Linked DNA regions of Homo sapiens: region 2 is linked to region 1. Evidence: promoter capture Hi-C in 16 types of primary human blood cells and fetal thymus (Javierre and others, 2016). All regions are on one chromosome and are shown on one strand. The core of a region is centred on a gene start or on the middle of the fragment in contact, and the rest is flanking DNA. Distances in the headings are between cores, read along the strand shown. Region 1 holds the start of RPS7 (ribosomal protein S7). Region 2 overlaps TMEM18-DT (TMEM18 divergent transcript).

Evidence for each region. The method cuts DNA at HindIII sites, captures the fragments that hold promoters and counts their contacts. A CHiCAGO score of 5 or more calls a contact.
Region 2: a contact is called between a fragment that was not itself captured here and the fragment with the promoter of RPS7 in region 1, in 1 of 17 cell types (monocytes). The highest score is 7.4, in monocytes.

What each region holds. Positions count from the first base shown.
Region 1 is chr2:3,571,197-3,577,074 of GRCh38, forward strand. RPS7 (ribosomal protein S7) reads left to right here and starts at 4,064. Exons shown (of 7, transcript NM_001011.4): 1 at 4,064-4,154; 2 at 4,396-4,488; 3 at 4,621-4,692; 4 at 5,291-5,434. The coding sequence starts at 4,414. LOC124907726 (a long non-coding RNA gene) reads right to left here and starts at 3,913. Exons shown (of 2, transcript XR_007086196.1): 1 at 2,939-3,913; 2 at 1-42. RefSeq lists enhancers at 3,617-4,192, 4,193-4,769 and a silencer at 4,321-4,610. The HindIII fragment of the contact is 5,628 bases long and covers 2,724-5,878 here.
Region 2 is chr2:679,948-685,514 of GRCh38, forward strand. TMEM18-DT (TMEM18 divergent transcript) reads left to right here. Exons shown (of 3, transcript NR_183417.1): 2 at 97-204; 3 at 1,309-2,916. Among named protein-coding and RNA genes, the nearest start is that of TMEM18, 5.3 kb to the left of the region's middle. The HindIII fragment of the contact is 1,997 bases long and covers 2,318-4,314 here.

The DNA.
Region 1 (5,878 bases), core at 2,814-5,313:
AGCTCTTCTCTTTCTTTTGCCTATTAAAATTCTGCTCTCAACCTAAAAAAAAAAAAAAGAAAAAGAAAAGAAAAAAGAAAAATGGTTAAAATATGAGCAGAAAACAATCACACAAAAACGTATAAAACGCTTTAAAATGGTCCTTGAACGTATGAAACCCATGGAAGGATGCCAACTTCACTCTGAATTAGAGAATGCAAATTAAATTACATTGCGGTCTCATTTTTCACCTGTCAGATAGAAACAAATTAAAAAGTATGATGACACATTCTGTTGGGAATGCTGTGGGAAAACAAGAATTCCCATATGACGCACAGCGCTTTTCTAAGGGAAGGTGGCAATGCGTAACAAAATTACTTATGCCTTTACCTTTTGAGGCTGAGATCCCACTTCTAGAAATTTATCCCAAAGGGGCTGCTCCAAAAGCATCCTAACGCATATGCCTAAGTTTATTTGTGGGGCATTGTTTAAAATTTCAAAATGTTGAGTATGACTCGGATGCAGTCCAAGTGTCTCCACAGAACACGGGCTGGGTGAAAGTGGTCTGACAGCCCAGCGGAGAGCGACGCCGTGGTGAAAAAGCATGAGGGAGGTCTCCTGAACTGACATGGAGGGATTTCCAGGAAATATGTTTAGGCGAACACAAAATGCAAAAATCAAATCCTGCTTTTGTGTAAGAATGAAGGAGAGGTAAGAAAATATACATTCAAGCAAAAAGAAACCCAGGAAGCATGAACCAGAAAGCAAGGTTGGGTGCAGGAGGGAAGGCAGGGGCCGGTGGAGTGTGGCCTTCTCAAGGGAGTGACCTCCTTAGATGGCTTTGACTTTCAGAAGCAGAGTGTTTCACATATTCAAAAGTCAACAAGGGCTGAGCATGGTGGCTCACACCTGTAATCCCAGCACTTCGGGATGCCAGGGTGGGCAGATCACATGAGGTCAGGAGTTCATGTCACCCAGGTTCAAGCGATTCTCCTGCCTCAGCTTCCCGAGTAGCTGGGATTACAGGCGGGTGGCACCACACCTGGCTAATTTTTGTATTTTTAGTAGAGACAGGGTTTCCCTGTGTTGGCCAGGCTTATCTCCTGACCTCAAGTGATCCACTCACCCTGGGTGGATTATCCCAAAGTGCTGGGATTACAGGTGTGAGCCACTGCGGCCCACCTGCATTGTTATTTTGAATGTATTTTCTCATAGTGTCAGATAAAGCAAGTAATTGTATTTTTGTGTTTAGGAAGCAAGGTTTTTATTACAGGAGAAAAGGAGATGCTATGATAGAATCGAGGATTTCAGAAGGAATTGTTCTGTTAGAAGTGGATTGAGAATGTCAATGTGAACTTGTATCTTTTATGAAAAAATTATTTTAAATGCCATCTTTCTAAGTTCTGTCCGCTGAAACGGCTTATGAGGAGCCCCACGATGCCTCCTGCTGCCAAAATTCTGGTCTCCAGTACTATTTTTCCAGAAAAACAAAAACAAAAGTATCAGCACTTCTAGGAGAAAAGGCTCATTCTATGTCTCAGGCAGAAAATTACAAGAGGAGCCTGGAATATCTTGTGCCAGAAAACAAGATGTTCAGACATTCATAGAAATGACAAGACTCGGCTGCTTATCTAAGAGGGGCCCCTCCTGGTCACAACTGAGACAATTTGAGGATCAAAGGAGAATATTGGCTGAGACTGATTGATGTACAGCAAATCTGAAATGTCCCATGTCCATAATGATACATAAAAGAGTTAACAAAGTGTTCTAAAAGTAAGTGGATTGCATAGATGATATTTCTGTTCATTGTCAATCATGTTGGTATTATCGACTCACTTATTGTATGGTTAAATAATAAAGAAGCTAGTACTAGTAAAACCAGGAAAACAATCTAATGTAATGATTAGTAGGCATTTCCTAACATAAAATTAGTAGAATGACCCTCTAAGTTGTGATTATGATCCTGAAACTACCTATTAAAAATACATGTGCAACCTCTATCAACTTCTATCAGGTTCTAGGTTTTAAAAATCACATTTCTTAGGATCTCATGAGGCTCAAAGCTAAAGAGTTAGAAAGGAAAAGCATTTATGTATATTAACAGCACATTAACAGCTAAAAAGAAAAACTCACATAATCATATTAGTTCATAGAAACAATGCATTTGACATACTCCAACATCCATTCATGATTTTATTTTATTTTTTATTTATATATTTTTTTTGAGATGGAGTCTCGCTGTCACCCAGGCTGGAGTGCAATGGCTCGATCTCGGCTCACTGCAGGCTCCGCCCCCGGCGGTTCACGCCATTCTCCTGCCTCAGCCTCCCGAGTAGCTGGGACTACAGGCGCCCGCCACCTCGCCCAGCTAATTTTTTGTATTTTTAGTAGAGACGGGGTTTCACCGTGTTAGCCAGGATGGTCTCGATCTCCTGACCTCGTGATCCACCCGCCTCGGCCTCCCAAAGTGCTGGGATTACAGGCGTGAGCCACCGTGCCCGGCCCATGATTTTAAAAAAACCTCTCAGAAATAGAAACAGAGGGAACTTCCTGAATTTGATTAAAAATACCTGCAAAATCCTAGAGCTAATATTATACTTAATGGTGAAAGACTGAATGGTTTTCCCCTAAGATGGAGAACAAGGCACGGATGTCCTTGCTCACCACTCCTATTCAACAAAGGACTGGAAACCAGAAATAACTTTAATTTTTTTTGTTCTCAAGTGATAGGTTCACAGAGAAAAAGCTTTACTGGATGAACTTTTAGATTACTACTTTTATAGAGCAGCAGAGATAAAAGCCAGGTCGAAAAGTGCATGTGGAGTAAGGAAATGGACCTAGTTCGACAAAAGGGCTCAGAACGACTGCCCAGATGAGATTGTAGACGCAGCTGTAGTTTACTTTCTATCTGGAAGAAACTTCAAGTTATCCTTAATTTTCCAAGGAGACAGTCACTTACCTTTTAAAAAACATTATTAGAGAAGCACCGGGCGGGAGCATATCTAGCATTAAAAATGTGGGATGAATACCATCTCTGCTTGGTAAAGGTGGTTGGGAATCCTGAGAGAGGGCACCTAGTGTGGCTTCTGCATTTTTCACAGTGCCTGGACCACGGCTGAAAGTAACTCTTGCATGACATTTGACAGAAGAGGAAACCGAAGCTCAGATTAAATTCCCTGTCCACAGCGGGATCATTCGGCACGAGTTCCTCCCTGTCTGGAATGCTCTTCCCCAGCAATAGATCCTGCGGCTCTTCCGTGTCTCAGTCTAATGTCATTCCGTTCCAGGATTCCCGACTTCTTAAAGCATAAATAATCCCTCCCCACCCTCTCATTGTACTGTTATGTAAGTTATTACAATATGTCATTATATATTTAGTCATACTGCTTTAGGTAATGTCTTCTCCACTGAACTGTAAGCTCCATGAGGGCAAGAGTTCAGTCGGTTTTACTTAATAATTAGCACCTAGTACAGTACTAGCATAGAATGAAGGCCTCGCAATTTTTTTTAAATTTATTTTTAGACAGGGTCTTGCGCTGTCGCCCAGGCTGGAGTGCAGTGGTGCAACCTCGGCTCACGGCAGCCTCGACCTTTCGGCTCCAGCGATCCTCCCGCGTCGGCCTCCGGGGTAGCTGGGACTGCAGGCGCGCACCACCATGACTGGCTAATTTTTTTTTTTTTTTTTTTGTAGACATGGGGTCTCGCCATGTTGCCCAGGCTGGTTCCTGAGCTCAAGTGATCCTCCTGCCTCGGCCTCCCAAAGTGCTGGGATTACAGGCGTGAGCCTCAGCGCCCAGCCAAGTTAGCCTTTTTTAAACGTCCTGTCTCCGGAGGTTGCCGAAGTTGGTTTTCTTCGGCCTCCTTCTCTCTCCCAGGCCCAGGGCTGGGACGAGGCCGGTTCCCGCCTGCAACCTGCACTGAAGACGGGAACCTTGGGAGCCGGTACCGGAACGCTCGGAAACGGCACCAAAGTACGAATCCTAGGGCGGAAAAGCGTTACCAAGACACTCGTCCCCAGAGCCGCTTCCTGGGACTCTCTAGCCTCCTACCGCTTCTCAGTGATGTTCCGGTTTCCGCCCTCCTCCTCGCGCTGTTTCCGCCTCTTGCCTTCGGACGCCGGATTTTGACGTGCTCTCGCGAGATTTGGGTCTCTTCCTAAGCCGGCGCTCGGCAAGGTAGGTTGGCGGCCTGCTCTCCGACAGAACTTTTCTTCTTGGGTTGAGGAAAACGCCTTTTGGAGTCAGGCCCTGGAGGGGCGAGCCTTGCTCACAGGGTGGGGATACAGCCGATTACCCGCCCTGTGCTTTCCGATGGCTTCTGCGGGGCGAGCGGGGCCTGGCCGGGGGGTGCGGGCGGGAGGGCGAGCCAGCGGCGCCTGCAGCCCGGGCCGCGTAACGCTGACCGCTGTGCCTTCAGTTCTCCCAGGAGAAAGCCATGTTCAGTTCGAGCGCCAAGATCGTGAAGCCCAATGGCGAGAAGCCGGACGAGTTCGAGTCCGGCATCTCCCAGGTGAGAGGGTTTCCCTGGGGTCTGGGGTGGGGGGAGGCGCCCCGCCCGGGAGGGGAGGCGGCCGCGCGTGTGTTGGGCCCGGGGTGCTCGGACGCGCGCTCAGGGTCGGTCCTGCTGTTCGTTGCTTCTTAGGCTCTTCTGGAGCTGGAGATGAACTCGGACCTCAAGGCTCAGCTCAGGGAGCTGAATATTACGGCAGCTAAGGTAAGCTGGCGCTCCCTCGGCTGGGAGGGAGGTTGCGGCGCGTCTCCCCGCGCAGTGCCTGAGAGGGTTGGACCTGGGTTACGGTTGATGATGACTTGCCGCCTGGCCGCCTAACCTGAACTCAGGTTCGGCCGTGTTGTTTGGGAGTGATACCGCCCAGGTGCGGGGAGTGGGGTTGCAGGTACCCTGCGGCTTAAGCTGTCCACATGCGGGCGGTGGAGAAACGTGGAGTAGGGAGGGCCTGGGCCCATTTCGGACCTTATTTGCCCTTACTTAGTTATAGATACGGCAAAGAGCTGTGGGGAGCTCAGGATGAGATTCTCTCTACCCTTAGCCCGGAGTTGCCGCAAGTGGGGGTGCAGAAGTGGTAGTGATTGGCCTCCTGGCCTGAACAGTCTCCCTTCCTGGAATAAGGAAATGTGAAGGTTGGAGAGAGATGAGAACATTTCCGAAGGATGCATTTATGATTAACTCAAAACTAGTATTAGTTTGTAGTGCAGCTACGGTGTTAGTGATAAGGTCTTCTTATCCTCTAATTTGACCACAACGTTTACTTTCTGAAGCAGTTAACACAGTGGATTTTTGTTTTTTTCTTTAGGAAATTGAAGTTGGTGGTGGTCGGAAAGCTATCATAATCTTTGTTCCCGTTCCTCAACTGAAATCTTTCCAGAAAATCCAAGTCCGGCTAGTACGCGAATTGGAGAAAAAGTTCAGTGGGAAGCATGTCGTCTTTATCGCTCAGGTATCTGTTCTACTGTTGCAGCACGTTTCTGTTTGTGAATTTTGCTAAAATTGCTTGTATTTAGACTGCATTGGTAGTTGGAGTCATGAAAACAATCCTTTTATGAATCCAATTGGGTAGAAAGATAAAGTACAGGCAGAGCGCCGTGGCTTAGGCCTGTAATCCCAGCACGGGGAGGTGGAGGCGGGTGGATCACTGTAGAGACCAGCCTGGGCAACATGGTAAGACCCTGTCTACAAAAAATAGAAAAAATAAGTTTTAAAAAGAAAGATAAAGTACGTTCTTTAATTAAGAGTCGAAACAAGAAGTCTGTAAAGTGACAGACTGCTGTGTTTTGAGTTATGAAAATGATTTCCCATATTTAAATTTCCACAAGTCTAGTGGGTTGCTTACATAGATGATCAAACTAAGAAACCTGTTACAGGCCGGGCCCTGTGGCTCACT
Region 2 (5,567 bases), core at 2,066-4,565, 2.9 Mb before region 1:
AGCTTTATTAATGGGTAAAATAAGTTTGTGAGCTGTAATGTTTTCTACAAATTAAAGCCAGTACTTGATAGCTTTCTTGTTCTTTGCATTGCTCAGGTCCCAGCAGGCAGCTGATTGTTTAGATGGAGAGACCACAGGGGAGAGTTACCTGTTGCTGTGGGAGCAATGAGGAGTTATGGAGGAAAGGAGAGGTACCAAGACCAGGTCTGTGCCCTGTGACCCAGAGGCAGCCTTGGGAGGGGCGTCTGTCTAGGAAGAGCCACAGCCAGGCTGACATGGGCAGGACCCCCTGGACCTGGCCTCCATAGCCCCATGCCAGCCGGGGTGCCAGGTGCAGACCCCTGGCCTGGTGACAGCTCAGACAGTGCCAGAAAGCCCAGGAGGGTCGGACCCTAGGGGACGGCAGGGTGCATCTCAGGAAAGGTTTAAACACTGTAGCACACCCAAAGAATGGTGTGAGCCCAGAGGTTTCATTCCTGAAGACATCATGGCCAATAACTGAGATCCCTGAGAGCTGGACTCTGGGCGCCCTCAGTTTCGATGTCTTGGATGCGAATCAGGCCACAGAAGTGCCCTTATCTCCACCACTGTGTTCTCCATTTATCCCCATTGAACTTGCCAAGCTCAGCAACATCCTGCAGGACACCAACCTCACGGGCTGGGTCTACGACCCCGGGCAGCTTCTGTGCGGGTTCCTGGTTCCTCCCTTTGTGTCTCTGGGCTGCACCAGTTTGACCCTGATGTGAAATCTGATGCCTCTGTCAGTTTGTACAATGCGGTTTACAATAAAGCATTTGACAGCAATGCTTAATTTACCATTTCCAAAGCTCTCATTCCTTTCTGAGCATTTTCAGGTGGTATCATTTCCTCTCAGACTAAAGAATTGCCATAAGCATCCCATGCAGTTCAGATCTGTCGGGGATGAATCGACTTCATCTGAAAAATGCTCTTGTTTTGTCTTCATTTTAAAGGATATTTTTTCTGTGAATTGTTGAATACTGCTTTTCTTTCTTTTCTTTGACCACATGAGAGATATTCCACAGCCTTCTGTCTGCCATAGTTTCTTGTAGAAAAGCAGTGATGTTTCTAATCCTCATTTTCCCATAGATAACATGTCATTTTTCTGTTTTCAGAATATTCTGTTTATCTTGGTTTCAGCAGTTTGACCACGATGTGCCTAGAATTAGTTTTCTTTGTATTCATGTTGCTTGTGTTTGATAAATTTCTTGATTCTGTGAATTTATATTGTTAATTTTTAGCATTATTTCTTCATTTTTTCTCTCTCATTCTTTTTCTTCTCTTTATTAGATGAGGACTGAACATTAGACTTCCCATGATTGCAGAACTGTCCTTCGCTGCAGCTGTAAAATCGCGGCAAGGCAGGATTCATCCTGGTGGTGGGTGCAGGCCCTGATTCCCGTCACTGAGCAGGGATACAGCAGGAAGCTCCACCTCTGAGCACAGCAAGGGGATTGTTCTGATTCTGAGTGTGTCTGTTTGCTAGAGCGGTGGCCACACTTCCCCGGTTCTGCAATTGTGGATAATTTAGCATGACTTGTTGGGCATTGCAAATATCATGTCGTGGAGAGTCTGGGCTCTGTTATTTTTTCCAGCTGTGTGTGTGTGTGTGTGTGTGTGTGTGTGTGCATGCACGCGCACGCGTGTGTGTGATGAGACCATTAAGTTGGTTTGACAGACTGCAAACTGCCTGTTGAACAGCAGCTGAATTCTTAATTTGGTTCTTTTATCCTTCTTGTGTTTCGTGGAGTTTGCCTCACACATTCAGCGTTCGGATGTCAACTGGAGTTCTGGATGGAAGTTATACACAGAATTTGGGGTTCTCCATCTCTGATTCTCTCCTTCCTTCTCAATTTTTAGCAGGCATATTCCCAATTTCTTCAGGAGGGAAAGACCAAGGGTTTCCTGTTGGTGTTTTGGCAACTCCGCATGGCATGGCGTCAGACTCACCCTAAGCTAAAAACCATAAAAGCCCTCTTTCCCTTTGTTTCTTCCACACATCACACTCCCCTCCCATAATCCATGCTTTTCATCTCCACTCACTTTTTATATTTGCTCATTGTCTAGATATTCCCTGCAGGAGAGTGACATTAGACGGGCTCACTTGGCCACCATGGGAAGCAGAAATCCAGAGATGGACACATTCCCTAAATGCTTCTATGCTGCCCTGTAGGAGAGGTGTTACTCTACTCACATTGCCGTGAGGAAACTGAGGCTCAGAAGTAGCATCCTTTGTCTGAAAGGACATAGCTCGTGAGCGCTGGAAGCATAGTTTGGTGTCTGACTTGGCCAATTCCAAAGCTTGTGTGATTTGCACCAGCACTCAGATGCATTCTTCCCTCTCCCTCCCTACCCAAGAAAAATGCTATCCCTCCCTTTTCCTCTAATTAGAAAATTCTTTTGTATAGTAGGAGATTATTAGGAAATAATCATTTCTCTCCAAAAGTAACACACTGAGGAGGCAGTATCTGAGGGTTTTGCCCAAATATGGCCTTTCAACCTCTGAATTCATGCCTACAGAAATTCCAAGATGTTTGTCATAGCATTTTTATTCTAACCCTCCTTAATGAGTGATACAGTTTGCCTGTGTCCCCACCCAAATCTCATCTTGAATTGTAGCTCCCATAATCCCCATGTGTCATGGGAGGGACCCCATGGGTGGTAGTTTATTCATGGGGGCAGTTACCCTCATGCTGTTTTGCTAATAGTGAGTGAGTTCTCATGAGATCTGATGGTTTTATAAGGGGCTTTTCCCCCTTTTGCTGGGCACTTCTCCTTGCTGCCGCCACGTGAAGAAGGATGTGTTTGCTTCCCCTTCTGCCATGATTGTAAGTTTCCTGTGGCCTCCCCATCCCTGAGGAACTGTGAGTCAATTAAAGCTCTTTTCTTTATAAATTACCCAGTCTTGAGCAGTTCTCTATAGCAGCATGAGAATGGACTAATACAATGGGTTGGAAACATCAAGGACTCCAAAGCAACTTTTCTGATCACTGAAAATGGCTCACACTAGGGACACGAAGGCAAGGTTTGCAGCTTCCTGCCCATGTCTGTTCTATGCCTGACTGGCTGTGCCCAACTTATACAGGCTGGACTCATCTTTCCTTCTGTCTCTATGGCAACCCTCTCAGAGAGCCAGCAGGGGCAAATCTCTGCTCTCCTATAACCTTGGGGCCTCTGGCTACCTTCAAGGCAGCCACTTTTATTTTCTCTAACAATTCAGGGCAGGTAGGGAAGACTTGTGGGTGTCCCAGACACTGGACAGTGATTACTGGGGTTTACCATCCTACTTGTTTGTAATGCACTCTAGCTCACTCAAGTGTAATTTTAAATGCAGTTGTTAAATGGCAATGAAATTTCCAGTTCCACTTAAAGCAATCATAGCTCATTCTTACTGAATTAAAAGACCCAGGCTACCCTGCTGGGTATGGTTTACCTTGTGTTCACTTAGGTGTACCTGCTATTCTCCTGGCATCACAGAGAGACAAAAGTCCCCAGGATGGATGGTACAAGTATGAAACGCCTGCTTGAGATGAGAAGCCAAAATCAGGGGATTATTCCTGAGGCTTTAATATGCAGATTGGTCTTTGGAGTTCATTGATTGTTAGGGCAGTTTCTCTGACATAAAAATTAATCTTCAGAAATTTACACACTCATAGAGAATGAAGCTGGCAGGATTTAGCCTGCCCAGTGTACATTTCTCATTGGTGCAAATTCACATCTTGACATATGTTGATAAGTTTAGGCTGATGTGTCTTGTAATGATGTTGGTATTCAGGGAAGTTTATGCCAATCTTCACGTGAAGTGGTCCTTCCTTAGGAATTGCTGTGGTTCTCTGACTTTCTGCACTACTGTATGACTTCCTGGGCCACCATAATGAGACACTACAGCCTGGGCAGCTTGAACAGCAGAAACTTATTTCTTTACAGTTCTGGAGGCCAAAAGTCTAACATTATTAAGACATTGACAGGTTGGTTCTTTCTGAGGCCTTTCCCTTTGGCTTGCAGACACATCTCCCCATGTGCACACAGGGTCATCCTCCTGTGTGTGTCTTTGTCCTGATCTTCTCTTCTTATAAGGACTCCAGTCAGGTAGGATCGAGGCCCACCCTTATATGCTCATTTAACTCACTTTCCTTTCAAAGGCCTCGTCTCCAATCACTGCAGCCTTCTGAGATGCGGGGTTTGGACCTGACATATAAATTTGGGGACACAAGTTGGCCCACAACACCACCAAGGGTACCACTGAGCACAGACAGAACTTGGTTCTCTTTCCATTTTCTTCTCTCAAATTTTATAAGCTTGTGGAATATCAAAAAGAAAATGGACCTTAGATCAGGGAAGATTTTATGTGAATATGAGTTCTCACTTGGAATGACCTTAGAATACTGTTTTTTGATTATCAAAGCCTCAGCTTGCCTTTGTGAGAATAAGGACAATAATACTTTTCTAATGTGTGGTTTTAAGGATTTGGGATGAAATGCCTTAAATGCCCAGCTCTGTGCCAGGCACATGGCACATGCCTAATAAAGACCAACCATTAGGACTCGAATGTTGTTGCCTCCTCTAAAGATGAAGGTGTTTATCTTGCTGTCCTCAGGGGGTCCTCTTTTTATCTCTTTTCTTTTTAGTTCATGAGACCAACACTGTTTATTTACAAATATTTTCTGCACATGTTGATGTAATGTAAATGGAAAACACAGTGCTGCTTCCTTTATTTTTTGGATGGTGATATGGTTTGGCTTTGTGTTCTCACCCAAATCTCATGTCAAATTGTAATCCCCACATGTCAGGGGAGGAGCCTGGTGGGAAGCGATGTGATCATGGGGGAGGATTTCCTCCATGGTGGTCTCGTGAGCTCTCATGAATTCTGATGGCTTAAAAGTGTGGCACTTCCCACCTCACTCTCTCTCTTTCTCCTGCTGCCATGTAAGTAAGACATACCTTGCTTCCTCTTCACCTTCCACCATGATTGTAAGTTTCCTGAGGTCTCCCTAGCCATGCAGAACTATGAGTCAATTAAACCTCTTTTCTTTATAAATTACCCAGTCTCAGGTAGTTTTTTATATAAAAGAGTGAAAAAAAAAACTAATACAGAAAATTCGTACCAGAAGTGGGGTACTGTTATAGATACCTGAAAACATTGAAGCAGCGTTGGAACTGGGTTACAGGCAGAGGTTTGGAGGGCTCAGAAAAAGACAGATAGATGTGGGAAAGTTTGGAACTTCCCAGAAACTTGTTGAAGATGGTTTTGACCAAAATGCTGATAGTGATATGGACAATGAAGTCCAGGCTGAGGTGATCTCAGATGGAGAAAAGGAACTTACATGGAACTGGAGTAAAGGTCACTCTTGCTATGCTTTAGCAAAGAGACTGGTGACATTTTGCCCCTGCCCTAGAGATCTGTGGAACTTTGAACTTGAGGGAGATGATTTAGGGTATCTGGCAGAAGAGATTTCTAAACAGCAAAGTGTTCAAGATGTGACCTGGATGTTTCTAATGCATATAGTCATATACATTAGAGACAAGAGAACATCTAAAATTGGAACTTA